Regions from separate parts of the Homo sapiens genome. Here region 1 is linked to region 2. The links are contacts of gene promoters, found by promoter capture Hi-C in human tissues and cell types (Jung and others, 2019). All regions are on one chromosome and are shown on one strand. Each heading gives the region's core, a stretch centred on a gene start or on the middle of the fragment in contact. The rest is flanking DNA. Distances are from core to core; before and after follow the strand shown. Region 1 holds the start of LOC124909375 (a long non-coding RNA gene). Region 2 holds the start of SETD2 (SET domain containing 2, histone lysine methyltransferase).

The links. Contacts are between HindIII fragments. The study calls those that stand out against the background at their distance.
Region 1: a contact is called between a fragment that was not itself captured here and the fragment with the promoter of SETD2 in region 2, in 1 of the 25 tissues and cell types used here (hippocampus).

Annotation. Positions count from the first base shown.
Region 1 is chr3:46,933,736-46,941,516 of GRCh38, reverse strand. CCDC12 (coiled-coil domain containing 12) reads left to right here. Exons shown (of 7, transcript NM_001277074.2): 2 at 452-519. LOC124909375 (a long non-coding RNA gene) reads left to right here and starts at 2,761. Exons shown (of 2, transcript XR_007095901.1): 1 at 2,761-2,794; 2 at 4,807-5,035. RefSeq lists enhancers at 719-1,218, 1,219-1,720, 5,724-6,018, 6,985-7,752. The HindIII fragment of the contact is 7,811 bases long and covers 42-7,781 here.
Region 2 is chr3:47,160,841-47,167,847 of GRCh38, reverse strand. It overlaps SETD2 (SET domain containing 2, histone lysine methyltransferase), which reads left to right and starts at 3,735. Exons shown (of 21, transcript NM_014159.7): 1 at 3,735-3,994. The coding sequence starts at 3,924. KIF9-AS1 (KIF9 antisense RNA 1) reads right to left here and starts at 3,478. Exons shown (of 7, transcript NR_033373.1): 1 at 3,251-3,478. RefSeq lists silencers at 3,233-3,282, 3,333-4,082, 4,133-4,442. The HindIII fragment of the contact is 7,701 bases long and covers 9-7,007 here.

The DNA of each region.
Region 1 (7,781 bases), core at 2,698-5,197, 230 kb after region 2:
CTCGGCTCACTGCAAGCTCTGCCTCCCAGGTTCACGCCATTCTCCTGCCTCAGCCTCCCGAATAGCTGGGACTACAGGCGCCCACTACCACGCCCAGCTAATTTTTTTGTGTGTTTTTAGTAGAGATGGGGTTTCGCCGTGTTAGCCAGGATGGTTGCGATCTCCTGACCTCGAGATCCGCCCACCTCGGCCTCCTGAAGTGCTGGGATTACAGGCATGAGCCACCGCGCCCAGCCAAGAGTTATGGATTTTTAAATTCTGCACAGGCAATGAGGCTCCAGTTGTGCCTATGAGATGCAGCAGGCGTGTACCCTGTTGGAGTCTGGGACACCAAGCTGGGCCCTGCCAGGTGCCCCCCTTCTGAGATGTCCTGTTCTTTAGCTCCCTGGGCCACGTGGACTGGAAGTAGGAGCTTTCAACTGAGCTGGTGGTTTTCTCCCTTTCTTTGCAGGACAAGGAAGATGGGGAGCCAAAGACCAAGCATCTCAGAGAAGAGGAGGAAGAAGGCGAGAAGCACAGGTAATGCCCGTGTGCAGCTCCAGGGTCTGCTCTCTCCTCCAGCACTCATCGGTCTCCCAGTCTCTGGGTCCTCCCAACTCTGTTCAGTGTCTGCCCTGTTCCCTCCCCTCTTCTTTCTGCCCATGGCTGTCCTGTTCAGACCTTAAAATCTCAACATCTCAGAAGGCCCTTGTCGAGGCCTTCTCTGCCTCCTTTCCCTCATTTTCCATTTGGCTGTTACTCAGCCCCCAGCATTTTCTTTCTAGCCCTTACATTATGCCTTTTTACCCTTCTCATACACCTTTTGTGGCGTGGTTCTCCATTGCCTACTGAGTAAGTGCCCCTTCTGCACTTGGCATGTGAAGCTCTGCCTGGACCATCTAGCCTCATCCAACCTCCTCTGGTTTCCCTCTAGCCAGAGCCCTTTGTGGTCGGCCCTTGCCACCTCTGGCCACTCAGCATTTCCTGACCAGTCTTTTGTCCGTCCTCTCAGCCTGGAGGTCCTTCTCATCTCTCCTATACCTTTGATGTCTGGGTCTTCACATAGAGTTCAGCTCAAAGGGCGCCTTTCTCGTTGTCTGTGTCCCTCTGGCTTCATTTCCCTCTGTAGTATTTATCTTATTTTGTCGAATACTCTCATCTGGTTGGGTCCACTTAAGTTGCCTAAACACAGCACACGTGAGGGTCTTGGGTACACTTCCCTCGTGATTGCAGGCACAAGGTCTTCCCCCGCAGTCTTGAGGGCTGCAACCTCCACAGAGCCTCAGATGCTGCTTTGCCTCCCAAAAATCTGGAGCCTGGAAACTGTTGCCGGAACCAGTGTGTGGGGTGAGCGAGGCAAAGCTGTGCTGCTGATCTTTGTGAGCAGAGTGTCTGACTACCACTCCCGTGTCAGCAGTTCCAGAGGTCTCATGTCCTCCCTCCCATGCCTAGCCCTGAGATGGGGCTCTCTTCCTGGGGCCAGACTGTGTGTCTTTCTGGACAGGTTGCCTTGATTTCCTTTGCTCTGAGCAGCTTCCTTCAGGCACAGGGGGGTGTAGATCTTGATGGGCTTAGGCTCTGCTTTGCCCAGGGGGAGCGGGAGGGGAGGGAATGCTCTTTAGAGGAAGCTGGGCAGCCACACCAGAGCAGGCTTTCCTAATGCCACAGCCTTTTTTCACCTTCACCAGTATGAGTAGAACCTCCCCACATGCGGGCCTCATCTCTGCCTTTGTAATCAGGAGCAATCACAGACACGACTTACAGAGTGTTTTCACACCATCCTGAGAGCCCTGCAGAGTCCATGCCCCCTACTCGGGTTCAGACATGCTACCAGCTCTATGCTTAGAGGCTGGTGATGCTAAACAGTGAGTGGGTCTGCCGGCACTGGGCCTGGGGCTTTTTGTTGGGCCTCAGCCCCCAGCTCTTGAAGGTCCCTGGCTGGTGATGGGAAGATGAAGGCCAGTTAGTTGCTCCTTTGCCAGGTGACCCCAACATATGTGGCTTTATGGGTGGGTGCTGGCACAGTTTCCCCCATTCTGTGGTAACTACATATTAGAGGCCCTTTGGTCTTCTGGTTTATTCTTAGTTTCTCAAAAACTGGAACTCTGGCTGGAGCCTGAGTTCCAGTTTCTGGGCTTTGATTTGCTGGTGGTGTTTTCTCTGATCCCCACCCCTCCCCCTCCTCGATGAGAGAGAAGGGTCGCTGGTTTAGCAGGTGGGTGGGTGGGTCATACAGTAAGAGGCTTGAATGTTGAACCATATGGTTGTGAATCTCAAACATGGTGTTGAGTGAAGGAAAAAAGCAGGTTTCAGAATTGAGGCATACAGGGCAGGAACATTTATATCAAATTTAGGAACACAAAATGATATATGTGTGTTACTCAGTTGGCAAGTACTGACTTTATTGGTTGTCTGCTCTGTGCAGGGCACCATTGTGGGCCCCTGGAAGGCAACAGCAGACAAAGTACAGCCCCTACCCTCATGGAGCTGACATTTTCTGGAAGGAGACAGGCTGTTAACGAAGAAGCAGGCGTGTGATACAGTGTCAGGTGCTGCCAAGAAAGCGAAAGCAGAAGTGTAAACACATACATGAGGAGTGATGCCTCCGATTGCTGTCTGGGGAAGCAAGGAGGAAACAGGATTAGGGAAAGGCTCTATGATGTGTGATTTTTTTTTTCTTTTTTTTGAGATGGGGTCTCGCTCTGTCACCCAGGCTGGAGTGCAGTGGCGCTATCTCAGTTCACTGCAACCTCCACGTGGCTCCCAAGCTCAAGCGATCTTCCCACCTCAGCCTCCCAAGAAGCTGGGACCACAGGTGCGCACCACTATGCCCAGCTAATTTTTGGTACAAAAACAACATGGTTTCACCAGGTTGCCCAGGCTGGTCTCAAACTCCTGAGCTCAGGCAGTCCACCCACTTCAGCCTCCCAAAAGTGTTGGAATTACAGGTGTGAGCCAGTGGACCTGGCCAATGATGTGTGATTTTGTTGTACCAAAAAAAAAAAAAAAAAAAAAAAAACAGGAGGGGAACAAACCTGTCTGGAATATGGCAAAACATTACTTTTATTGACTCTGCAGGAGGTGAGTATATGTGTTAGGTTATTCTCCGGACTTTTCTGTGTGCCTGAGATATATCATAATGAAAACTGTGGGAAAAAAACCAAAGGGCATGTGTAGTTCCAGGCTCCTGTCAGTGAGTTCTAGATAAAAGAGGCCCTGCCATGTGAGGACCTGCTTCCTGTTAGGTCTTACAGGTCATTTGTAGTGGAGCACAAGACCTGCTCTGAGGCCCTGTCCTGAGCCCACTGAGCTGGGCAGGTGCAGGGCCCTGTTTTGTTTTTTCTCACCGCAGCCCAGGGACCAACCATGCTGGACATTGAATTGGGTTCTGCTTCAGCTCATCATATTCTTCTGCTTTGCTCTAATCTGGCCTCTTTTGAGGCAGTGGAGCATGGTGGAACAGGTTTGCCTCCCAGTCGTTGAGAGCTTGGCTTTTGGGGCTGTCCTTCTAGAGACTTTGGGCAGGTGGACTTCTAGCATCCTGTACCTGGCAGGGCCTGCTACTCGGTCACTCCCTTGGTTGCCAGGAAGCCTAGCCTTAGCAAGGAGTTGTGCCTGTATTTGTAGGCCCCAGAGAAAAGCAGACTCTTCTGACTTTAACAGATCCAGAGCAGAGGGCTTGCTCAGGTTATTTAGGAAGGCAGATTAGAACATTGGTTGCCTAACACAGGGCCAGACCTATGTGGACGTAACTTTAGACTGCAGGGTCCAGGGATTGGGGATGATGGACTTTCCAGGAAGAGCAGGATGCAGCAGAGGCCGTGTCCATCCCAGGGGATCTTGCTTTTTATTTGTACCCCAAGTCTGGAAAGGGGCTCTCATGCAGGATGCTTATGGATTGGGAGCTGATTCCAGAGAACCCCCTAGGCCATAGCCCCTGCTACAGCCTCCTTTGCCACTGGAGAGAAAGAAGTGACCTTCCAGTCCATTGGAGAGATGACCCCTGAGGCCATTCGCCAGTGAGCATCCTTCTTCCTCGGCTGCTGGGAGGCGAGAACAGCCTACTTCAGTCAGGGTCACTCTGGGTTGAGCCCAGGTGCCAGGTGTGAAGCCCCACCAGCACCCGCCATTCTGGAGTGTGCTGAGAGGAGTGTGGTGCCCACTCAGGGGTGCTTTCAACTAACACTGTCCTGCCTTCAGTGGGACAAGGCCTTATGGAGAACATACCTTTTAAGTCTGGAATCCAGATGGTAGGGTTTGGGTGGCAAAGGTCCAGAGGCATGAATCTGCAGTGTGAAAGGGTGGGTGGTATAGCCTCTTGTTGGGGAGGCATGAACAGACATCACCCCAACTCTCCTTTACACAGTGTCCCTGGGGGCCCCTTCCAGTCTGACCCCCTCACCATCTCAGGAGTGACGCCAAGGGAGTTACACAGATCTGCATCTGAGACCAAGGGCCCAACCTGGATGGGAAAGACTAAGTTGTCTCTGATGCGTCCCTGACCCAGGCCCTACAGAGAGATGGAGGGGGCGCCCTCCTCTTCCTCTTGTTCCCTAGTTTCTCCTCTTATGCCCTGACCAGGATTCCTCCCTGAGTCATTCCATCCCACACGGCCACTCAGCTCTGAACTCTAATGACTGGGTGACCCCAGGGCCTGCTGCCTGTGAGTGTCTCGGCTCCCTATGTCCCATTAGCTGGCAGAGAGCAGGGTCCATCTGCCTCAGTTACTCTCCAGGTCACTCAGTGTCCCCTGCCTGGTGGTCAGTTCCATATATTGATGTAGCTAGTTCATCATGCTTTAAATTTTTTTTTTCTGCTTTAATTTAGGGACTTAGGGGAAGAACACATGTTGAGAAGATTCTTGGTTCAGCAGCAGTCCCTGAAATGAAAGGACATAGACAGATGGAGTAAGGTCAAGCTTTGGAAGCAGTTCCCGGGTTTGAGGCCAAGCCCTGCCAGTTAATTTTCTAACCCTGGGCAAGTCACATTGCCTCAGTGAGCCGCAGAATCTTCAACCAAAGGTGGAAAAAAATGAAATAAAACTTGCTTCACCTGACGAACAGAGCAAATGCCATACCTGTTTGCCCAGCTAGTGCTGGGGCTCTGGGCAGAAGGAAGGCACCGTGAGGTCCTCCCGAGAGAGTGAAAGGACTCTGGACACACCTCGAAAAGGCAGAAGTAACTTTTACATAAAGCATGTGCCAGCTTTGCAAATAAGGCAACAGTTGGGGGAAATGTGAGGCAATGGATGGGAGTAGAAATAAGGAAATGTGACTTAGAAGTTTGTGATTAGGAACCACTTTGTAGAGCCTCGCTTATTTGCTGCATTAGATAGTCCTTGGAAATAAGCTGAGTGGTCTCATTTTGCAGATTCATTTGTCTAACCAGATACACTGTAGGGCCAGGGTTTGTGGCTAAGTAAATGAAAATCCAGCAGGATTGGAGGGAGCCACCCCAGGACCTTGCCCCTCACCAGCCATCTTGAAGAGCCACTCGCCTGCCTGCCTGTGTTCCTGCCCCACTGCCTGAGGAGACCTTTTCAGAATTATGTTAGCTATTCTAACAGTTCCTTTGCCTTTCCTTATGCATTTTATAGTTAGCTTGTTAATATCTATTAGAAAAAGCTTGCTGGGATTTTGATAGAATTGCATTGAATCTATAGATCCAGATTCCTTTTTAAAATTTGTATTATTCTCCTAGGATAAATCCTGTCCTATCCCCATACAACCAAATCCCCATTGGGTGGGAGTGAGCTCCAGCAGCTCCACCAGCCCAGGCTCTGTGGGAAGAAAGGATGCATTCCTACCCCTAGATGGGCCCTACTTCTCTGGGCTGACTCTTCCCTGTCTCTGCCAGCCCTCTTGTAGCTAACTCTGTAGAGGCATGGATGACTCATCCCTAAGGCAGCTCCCTTCCCCCAGCCCCCTGTGTACTGCCCAGATAAGATGTGCCCTGGAAAGCTGGCCCATGGAAGAGGGCATTCAGGGGCGTTCATGTCAGTGTCAGCTGCTTAGCTGCTTTTTTTTTTTTTAAAAAGCTCTCCGTCACTTCTTCCTGATGGGAGGTTGGCTGATATGTGCCATGGAGGCATGTCTAGGGCAGCGTTTGTGGCTGACAGCCATTGCCACCCTGCCTTGTGGGATGGATGGACTGTTGGGTTGGGGCTGACAGGTGGGAGGAGAAGGGAGGAGGCACTTAACCAGGAGCACTCGCCTCCTCCTATGCCAGAAAGTGCCTGAACAAGCAAGTCCCGACCTCCCAACCTCCACAGCCACCACCTCCCTGTGGCTTTGTATGGAGGTCTGCACACAGCTGGAAAAGTCGGTCACCATCAGAGATAGTTGTTTGACCGGTGCTGGGTGTCACATATTGCAAAAGCAATGAGGCCACTAGCCTTCCTTCTTCAGAGATGGAAAATCTGTTCCCCAGCTCAATGTGTGCATGACCCTCTTGTGGAGAGACTTCCCACCCCAGCTAAGGCCCAGCCCTGGCCCAGTGCCCAAACCCTTGAGTCCAGCCAATGCCAGGCCTCTCTGCTCTGTGTGCTGGGCCCCACTGATGGTTTCCACACACCAGGGTGTATCACAGATCATGGTTGTTTGATCCATGACATCAGCTTGATTTGGCATGCATTGTTCCACCGTAGTGGTACCGACCAGGGCGGCTCCCATCACGCCTCCTGAGTTCTTTCAGTCCCACTGTAGAGGATGTCTACATCTGGTGATGTCCCAGTCATGGGCAGTGGAGATCTCCTGCTGAAGCAGCAGCACAGGGACCCACGACTGCCTCGTTTTTCCTGACCCTGTTTCTTGGGAATAGGCCTGGGAATGTGGGAGAATGAATCAAGAGAGAACTGGTTTAAGGAAGATGGTGAAGCCGACTCACCATGTGCTGGCACCGGGCACCTCCCTTCTGGGTAGGGTGGGGTAGGAGCACAGCTGAATCCTTTCTGTGTGCATTAAGTCTTGATATCTTGTATGTCCTGATCTCAGCTTCCAAAGCCCCTCTTATGAAGTCTTCACCTCTGTTCTGGGACTAATGTGATCTGCATTTATAGGTGAAGAAACTACAGTCCAGGCAGGTGAAGTGACTTGGCTAAAATTTCCTTGGCTAAAATCCTCCAACTTTTGAAAGGGAGTGGAGCTGGCACTGAGACCCCTCCCTGTGTGGGGAAAAGAGTCTTTGGCAGAGTGCAGCAGCTGCTGGCAGTTTGCCACTCAGGGCAGCCTTATGGGGTTGAGCACCATCCACTTTCCCAGAGTGGTCTGTGGGCTAGATTGGGCCCTGGGAGGGTGAGGGGCAGTGGGCTATGCAGGCCCCTGTCCCCCAACATCTGGGTCCCACATGGCCAGTGTGACCAATCCAGTTCTCACCTTATGGGCCCTTTGGGGCTTAGCTCATCTGCCATAAACGTTTACTCCTCTCCTGTTTTAAAATTTAAATTGATATTTACAACCGGGTGCTGTGGCTCACGCCTGTAATCCCAGCACTTTGGGAGGCTGAGGCAGGAGAATGGAGTGAACCCGGGAGGCGGAGCTTGTAGTGAGCCGAGATTGCTCCACTGCACTCCAGTGGACGACAGAGCGAGACTCCATCTCAAAAAAAAAAAAATTTTCAATTGATATTTACATAAATTATAGATTTTTTTATTGTAGAAAACTTAGAAACTACAGATCAACATGTATCTGTGCATATCATGCTGTTTTGTAACATTTTTTCATGAGCCGTGTCATGACTATCTTTTGGTAAATACACTTTCATGAAATTATGGCAGCTTAATATTTCTTTGAGAGTACCATGAT
Region 2 (7,007 bases), core at 2,486-4,985:
CGTGCGCCACCATGCCTAGCTAATTTTTGTATTTTTAGTAGAGATGGGGTTTCACCGTATTGGCCAGGCTGGTCTTGAACTCCTGACCTCAAGTGATCTGCCTTCCTCGGCCTCCCAAAGTGCTGGGATTATAGGCATGAGCCACTGTGCCCGACCTACATTTCTTTTTTTTTTTGAGATGGAGTTTTGCTGTTGTTGCCTAGGCTGGGGTGCAGTGGCGCGATCTTAGCTCATCATCGCAACCTCCGCCTCCCAGAGTTCAAGCGATTCTTCTGCCTCATCCTCCAGAGTAGCTGGGATTACAGGCATGTGCCACCACATCCGGCTAATTTTGTATTTTTAGTAGAGACCAGGTTTCTCCATGTTGGTCAGACTGGTCTCGAACTCCTGACTTCAGGTGATTCGCCTGCCTTGGCCTCTCAAAGTACTGGGATTACAGGCGTCAGCCACCGCACCCGGTCTACATTTCTTCTTTCTACTACCCTTACCAGGTACCCGAAGCCTACCTGTGGAGAGTAGGCTTTTGGCCTTTGTCTTCCCTAAGGCAAGAGATGATTTTGTTTCAGGGTCACTACTGGCAACCCTGGAATCTCCTGGGATAGGGTTGGTCTTGACCCACAGGAGACAGTAACAGTAGGAGAAAGTATAAATATATATATATTTTTTTGAGATGAGTTTCGCTCTTGTTGCCCAGGCTGGTGTGGAATGGCATGATCTCGGCTCACTGCAACCTCCGCCTCCCAGGTTCAAGTGATTCTCCTGCCTCAGCCTCCCTAGTAGCTGGTATTAGACATGTGCCACCACGCCGGGCTAATTTTTGTATTTTTAGTAGAGACCGGGTTTCTCCATGTTGGTTAGGCTGGTCTTGAACTCCCAGCCTCAGGTGACCCACCTGCCTCAGCCTCCCAAAGTGATGGGATTACAGGCATGATCCCATCACACCCAGCTGAAATTATAAAGGCTTTTACGATTTTAGCACTCTGGGAGTGAATGCCTCAAATATTTCATGCTAGGGCTTTTTAGACATTTTTCCTTTAAACATGTGCAGAAAGTAGGGGATGGTCAGTATTTAATAACATGAAAAACCAAATTATTCCACAGCTTTGATCAGGAGGCCAGGCCCAAGTACGTGCTCCAAGCATGCATTCTCTTTGACTTAAAAATATGAGTCCAAAGAACTCTGAGTGCAGTTATAGATGAAGGCACTGCCTGTAAAAACCCAGTTCATTTGTTTCTGTTTGGGGCTTAGAATTCTCACTGATTCCCATGGCTTGACAAGCTTATTGCACTGGGTTCTGACCAAACCAATGCTATCATGAGACCAGGCATTCCAGTGCCCAGCTGTACCTCCTGCAAGAGAATTGCTTACTTTCTTATTAAGGAAATAGGAAACCTGCACCTGACTGCTTTTTTCTCATTCACCTCAGCTTAGGTCCTTACCACCTCACATTGTTTCAACCACCTCCACCTAAAATTGTCCTTTCCTGCCTGTCCAAGGTCAAGTGACTCCCAATTGCCTATGTGGCATCTAAGGCACAGGGCCTCAATCTATTCTTTCAAAGCCCAAAAGATAACACTTACTGGGCACTTACTCAATGAAAGGCACTGTGCAAGCATGTTCACAACATTCTCTGCACAGTGGCTAATACCCCATTTACAGGTGAGGCACGGGAAGCATAAGAAGCAAGCATCCCAATGTCACAGGGCTAGAAAGTGCCTGGTACACAATGCCAGGTAGAGCTACCTCTTAAACTCTGCACTATCATGGCTGAAGAATGCTGACGTTTACTGAAAGTTTAAGCCTTTAACAAATAGCTCATTTAATCCTCACAATAATGAGAAGACCTGTCGGCAGCAATATTCTCATTTTATAATGAGAAAAACCACAGGGAAATTAGTAATAATCACGGTGTGTAAAAAAATGGCCTTGGGAGATTCGAACCTAGGGAGTCAGATGGACCCTGGACCTCCATGCTAACCCTAAAGGTACCAGGAAAAAAAAAAACAAAAGCCAAAATAATCCCTAAGTGAAAAACAATGATTATAAAACACTAATAGACACTGTAGCCTACATACATATAAAGGCTATTTTAAAAAGTTAACCACTGAAGGATGTTTATTCTTTCGTATCATATTTCAGTTTTTTTTTGTTGTTGTTGTTTTATTTTTTTGAGACGGAGTCTCGCTATATCGCCCAGGCTGGAGTGCAATGGTGCGATCTGGGCTCACTACAACCTCCGCCTCCTGGGTTCAAGCGATTCTCCTGCCTCAGCCTCCCGAGTAGCTGGGATTACAGGCGCACCACCACGCCCAGCTAATTTATTTTTTATTTTCATTCATTTATTTATTTTTTTGAGATGGAGTCTTGCTCTGTCGCCAGGCTGGAGTGCAGTGGCACAATCTGGGCTTACTGCAACCTCCGCCTCCTGGGTTCAAGCGATTCTCCTGCTTCAGCCTCCCGCGTACCTGGAATTACAGCCGTGCGCCACCACGCCCGGCTAAATTTTGTATTTTTAGTAGAGATGGGGTTTCGCCATGTTGGCCAGTGTGGTCTGGAACTCTTGACCTCAGTTACTCCGCCCGCCTCGGCCTCCTAAAGTGCTGGGATTACAGGCGTGAACCACCGCGCCCGGCCCACTTTCAGTTTTTAACCACTGTTTCTCAATTGGAAGACACATCCTTTCCTTTCCGTTACCAATTGCTGGTAAAATCCGATTCAAAATTCTAGTGGAAAAACAACAGCAACAACAACACAAAAAACGCTAACCCTATGAACCCCCAATGTCAAAATGATCTATCGCCAAAAACTCTTCAGCGTCTAGAAAGTTTAGCTATTGGATTTACGCGTTCCTATCTCTCCTTCCAAAAATAACAACTCGTAGCTCTTTCAAGTTATTCTACTTAGTCTCATCTTATCATTTCTGTAGGAAAGTGATTAATACCCTTTTTTTCATGACATTGCCTCTAAGGCCCCAAGAACCACACAGGAGAGGGGAGCTGCCGCCTTGGAGACTTCGGGTGGGGGCAGAGCGCCGCGCCGAGGTGGAGGTAGGAGCCCCGAGGGCACAGCGGGAAGGAAGGCGGAGGAGGCTGCCGGGAGCTCGGCCTCCGAGCAATCCCCCGCCTCGCTGGGCTTCCATGCTTGCTAAAGGGTCGAGATGAACGGGCAAGGGAGAGAGAGGGCGAGGAAAAATAAAAAAGAGAGGGGCGAGTGGGACGAGGGGCCCGGGAGCAGCCGCGGCCGCGTTACCTCAGAGCCCAGAGGCCTGGGGGAGGGGCCCTCGGCGCTGCCGCGGACTCCGGGGCTCCCGGCGGGCAGGTCCTGCAGGGCCGCGGAGCGAGAAGGCTGATGTCTCGGGTGTCTCGGGGAGTTCTCCCGACGTCGCCTGCTGTTTGTCAGTCGCCAGCTGTGACACGGTAGCGGGCCGGGTCACGCTGCCCCCGGCCGCCAGGCGGGTTGCGGGAGGGGTCGCGGTGCCGCCTCTCCAGGTCCGGTCTGGCCCACATCACTGGGGCCGGGGGTTTATTGTTCCGGAGAGCCACAGGCACGGTCGGCCTGGACCCGCCGGGCAGTGTTCCGCTCTGCCCGTCCCGGCCTGGGGTCAAGCCAACAGCTGCAAGGCACGCCGACTGGCGGCAGATCGGTGGCCCGTGTGTGTCTCTTTAAGGGGCCGGGCCTGCGAAGCTGAGGGGCGGGTGGGGTGTGCGTCGCTCCCGGTGTGAGGGTGAGAGGGAGAGAGCGGCTGGCGGGCGTCCGAGGGAGGGAGGGAGCGACGAGCGAGGTAGCGACGCGGGCCGCCCCTGCCGCCGCCGCCGCCGCCGCCGCCGCCGCCGCGGTCGGACCTGCGGCCTCCTCCCCTCCCCTCCCCCGCGTCGCCCTGCTGCGGGGAGGGGGCTCGCGTCGCCGTCTCCAGCCGCTCCCGATGAAGCAGCTGCAGCCGCAGCCGCCTCCGAAGATGGGGGATTTCTACGACCCGGAGCACCCGACCCCTGAGTAAGTATCAGCTCCGCGGCCCCCCGCTGCTGTCGGCCGCCTTATCCCCAGCCGAGGGCGGCGCGTCCTGACGGGTGGCGGCGCGGGCCGGCGCGAGGAGTAACAGGCCCACGGTGGCCTCGCGCGGTCGGTGTCGGGAGCAGGCCCGCGCCGCCACTTCGAGCCGCTTGGCCGGGGCCGCAGCAGGCCCGCGGTTGGGCCCGGCGTTGGCGCCGCTGCTCGTGTCGCGGCGGCGGTTGGGCCGGGCCGGTGGGGGAGGGGCGGCCACGGTCCCTACGGTTACCGCCGTGTCCGCACCGACCCGGCCATCCCGGGGCTCGGCGGTCCTCTCGGGCTCCTCGTGGCTCGTCCGGGCCCCGCTGCTAGCCAAAGGGCAGAGTCGGAGGAGCTGCCGGTGCCGGGCCCGGCAAGAGGGCGCCGGTGAGGGTAGGCCGCGAATCCCCGGGCTCGGGTGGAAGCTCGACCCGTCGCCCGACCTCCCCGCGACGGCGGCGCCTCGGACCGGAAGGGCCTAGCGCGGGTTGCCTGGCCCCCGGGCCGTGGAGGGGCCCGCGCTGCACTCCTGAGTTTGATTTTTTCCTCCTGGGAACTCGATCCTGGCCTTGCAGTGCTTCCGGATTCACATTGTGCACCTTTGGCACTTGGGTTTTGTAATGGCGAGGTTTGTGTGGTCCCGTTGTTGAGGTGACACCGGGTTTGTTTTTCCGCTTGAAAATGAAAGCCTCCTGAGGGACATACATTTTCTTGCAGGTTGTGAGATTTTCACACTTTCGGACACAATTTTCTTGGTAACAGGAATCTCTTACCCTAAACGGATGACTTTCTATTTCTTGTGAAGACTTGGTTAAAAACCAAGAATCGTTTGAGGATTCTCTAAAGAAGACAATGTTGTGGAAAACCGACACACAGTTTTGCCCAATAGTAATTTTTCAGTCTAGGACACCTTTACATTTCTCTTGAGGTCTGAATCTGCTGCTGTATCTGCTATCTCAGAAAGCCTGGAGTCACTTCTTTCCCTGAACCCTCACGAGACCATTGTTTTGAAAAGCCGTTCTTAAACACCGTTTGCTGGTGTTAGACCTAGGAATATACTATTGATTTAAAACTTATCGGTTGATAGGGGTTTCACATGAAACTGTCAAACTTTTATGACCAGGATGATTCCAAGAGCTTTGCTGTTTTGACACATTTTACCTTAGGTTTGCTCTGGCTCGTTTTTGAATCCCTTGCCACATCTTCTCACATTGGTCCAGAAATGTCTGGATCTTAATTGATAGTTTTGATTGCAACACAAACGGATTCTGTTGAGGTGTTGGTCATTTCTGCACAACAAGATAAATCATTATTTTGCTTTTCTAAAAACCCAACTCTTACTTGCAATAGTAAGTTAACATGGCTTTTTCCTTTCATGGGTTCTTGGCCATTGGTTAACATTACCTTAATTAGATTGGTCTTTTTGTTTTGCTACTGGCAGGGTCAGTTAGGTAAGATTGTTTTGATTTACTGCACCATCAGTCCAATTACAAAGCTCATGTTATAGGTTTTTAGTTTGAAAAACCTCAAAAAAAATTTTATATCACGATTCAATAAATGCTTATATAGCACTTGCTCTGTACAAAGTAACATGCTAACCCCTGAATAGGCTAAGTGCCTGCTTTCACTTCCTTTTACCAGGTTGTTTGGTGAAGTCCGGAAGCTTTAAGGATCACATCCTTACACTTCTTGGGGAAAAACAATTTTTCATAATATGTGGGAAAATGGACTCAGAAGTGCATCTTTGGTAGACCTGAGTGGGGAAGGAATCAAGAATGTTTTATGGTTTTACATGTTTTGGAGTTTTTATTTTTATTGCTTTAATGTAGTAGAAATCCACTGCTTTGGATTTCTAACAGTGATTATATATTTTTAAATTCTCGTGTATTTTTTCCTTTTTTTTTTTTTTAGAGGCAGGGTCCCACTCTGTCACCCAGGCTGGAGTGCAGTGGTGTCATCATGGCTCATTGCATCCTTGAACCTCTGGGCTTAAGCAGTCCTCCTGCCTCAGCCTCCTGGGTTGGGACTATAGGCATGTGTCACCACACCCAGCTAATTAAAAAAAAATAAATTACGTTACTGGTTTTGAATCCCTGGCCTCAAGTGAGCCTCCTGCCTTGGCCTCCCAAAGTGCTGGGATTGCAGGCATGAGCCATTGTGCCAGGCCTCTTCTTGTGTATTAACCTGTATGGAGTAAAGAATTGTAACATGTTTTTTGTTGTTGTTGTTTTGTTTTTCCTTTTTTTCATAATACTATAAAGACTGGAGGGGATCATGGTAGGTATCCTGAGCAATATCACCTGTTTGGCATATGAAGAAAATGAAGGCTAGAGAAGTGAAGTGACAGCAAACTCTTGAGATAGTAAGCTAGTTAGTGTTTATAATGCTAGAGAGAGGAGAGAGAAAGGCAGTATAGGGTTTAAAAAACCTGGATTTCAGAGTCAGACCTGAATCTGAACACTATTTTAACCTTGGACGATGACTTCATCTCTCTGAACTTGGGTTTTCTCATCTTTTATATAGGTATTATAATGGTTAACAACTTACTGGGGCTTTTTGGGAGGATTGAATGAGATAATGCATGAAGAGCACTTGGCGCAGAATGTGGCACGTGTAAGTGCTTCTAGTTGGGGTCATCAGGGAAAAGTTAAAAGGTAGGATTTAAGTTGAGGATGAAAAGACTAGGTGGGCAACATGGCTCAGGGGAGAAATGACCAAGTGCCCTTTTTAGACTTTGGATGGTTTGAAATGGTACTTAGACATATGAAGAAATTGAGGCAAAAATGTAAATTCAGTTTGACTGAAGTAACACTTAGCGTCTGATGTTCTGGGTTTGTCTTGTACCCATGCTTTTAATCAGACACAGCTGCAAGATGTCTTTTTTATTCAGCAGCATAGAGGACATTGTGTTTCAGGTGAAAATGGCTGTAATCACTTGAGTATCTGTGCAGTGGGTGTCCATTATGGGGCAGGCCCAGGG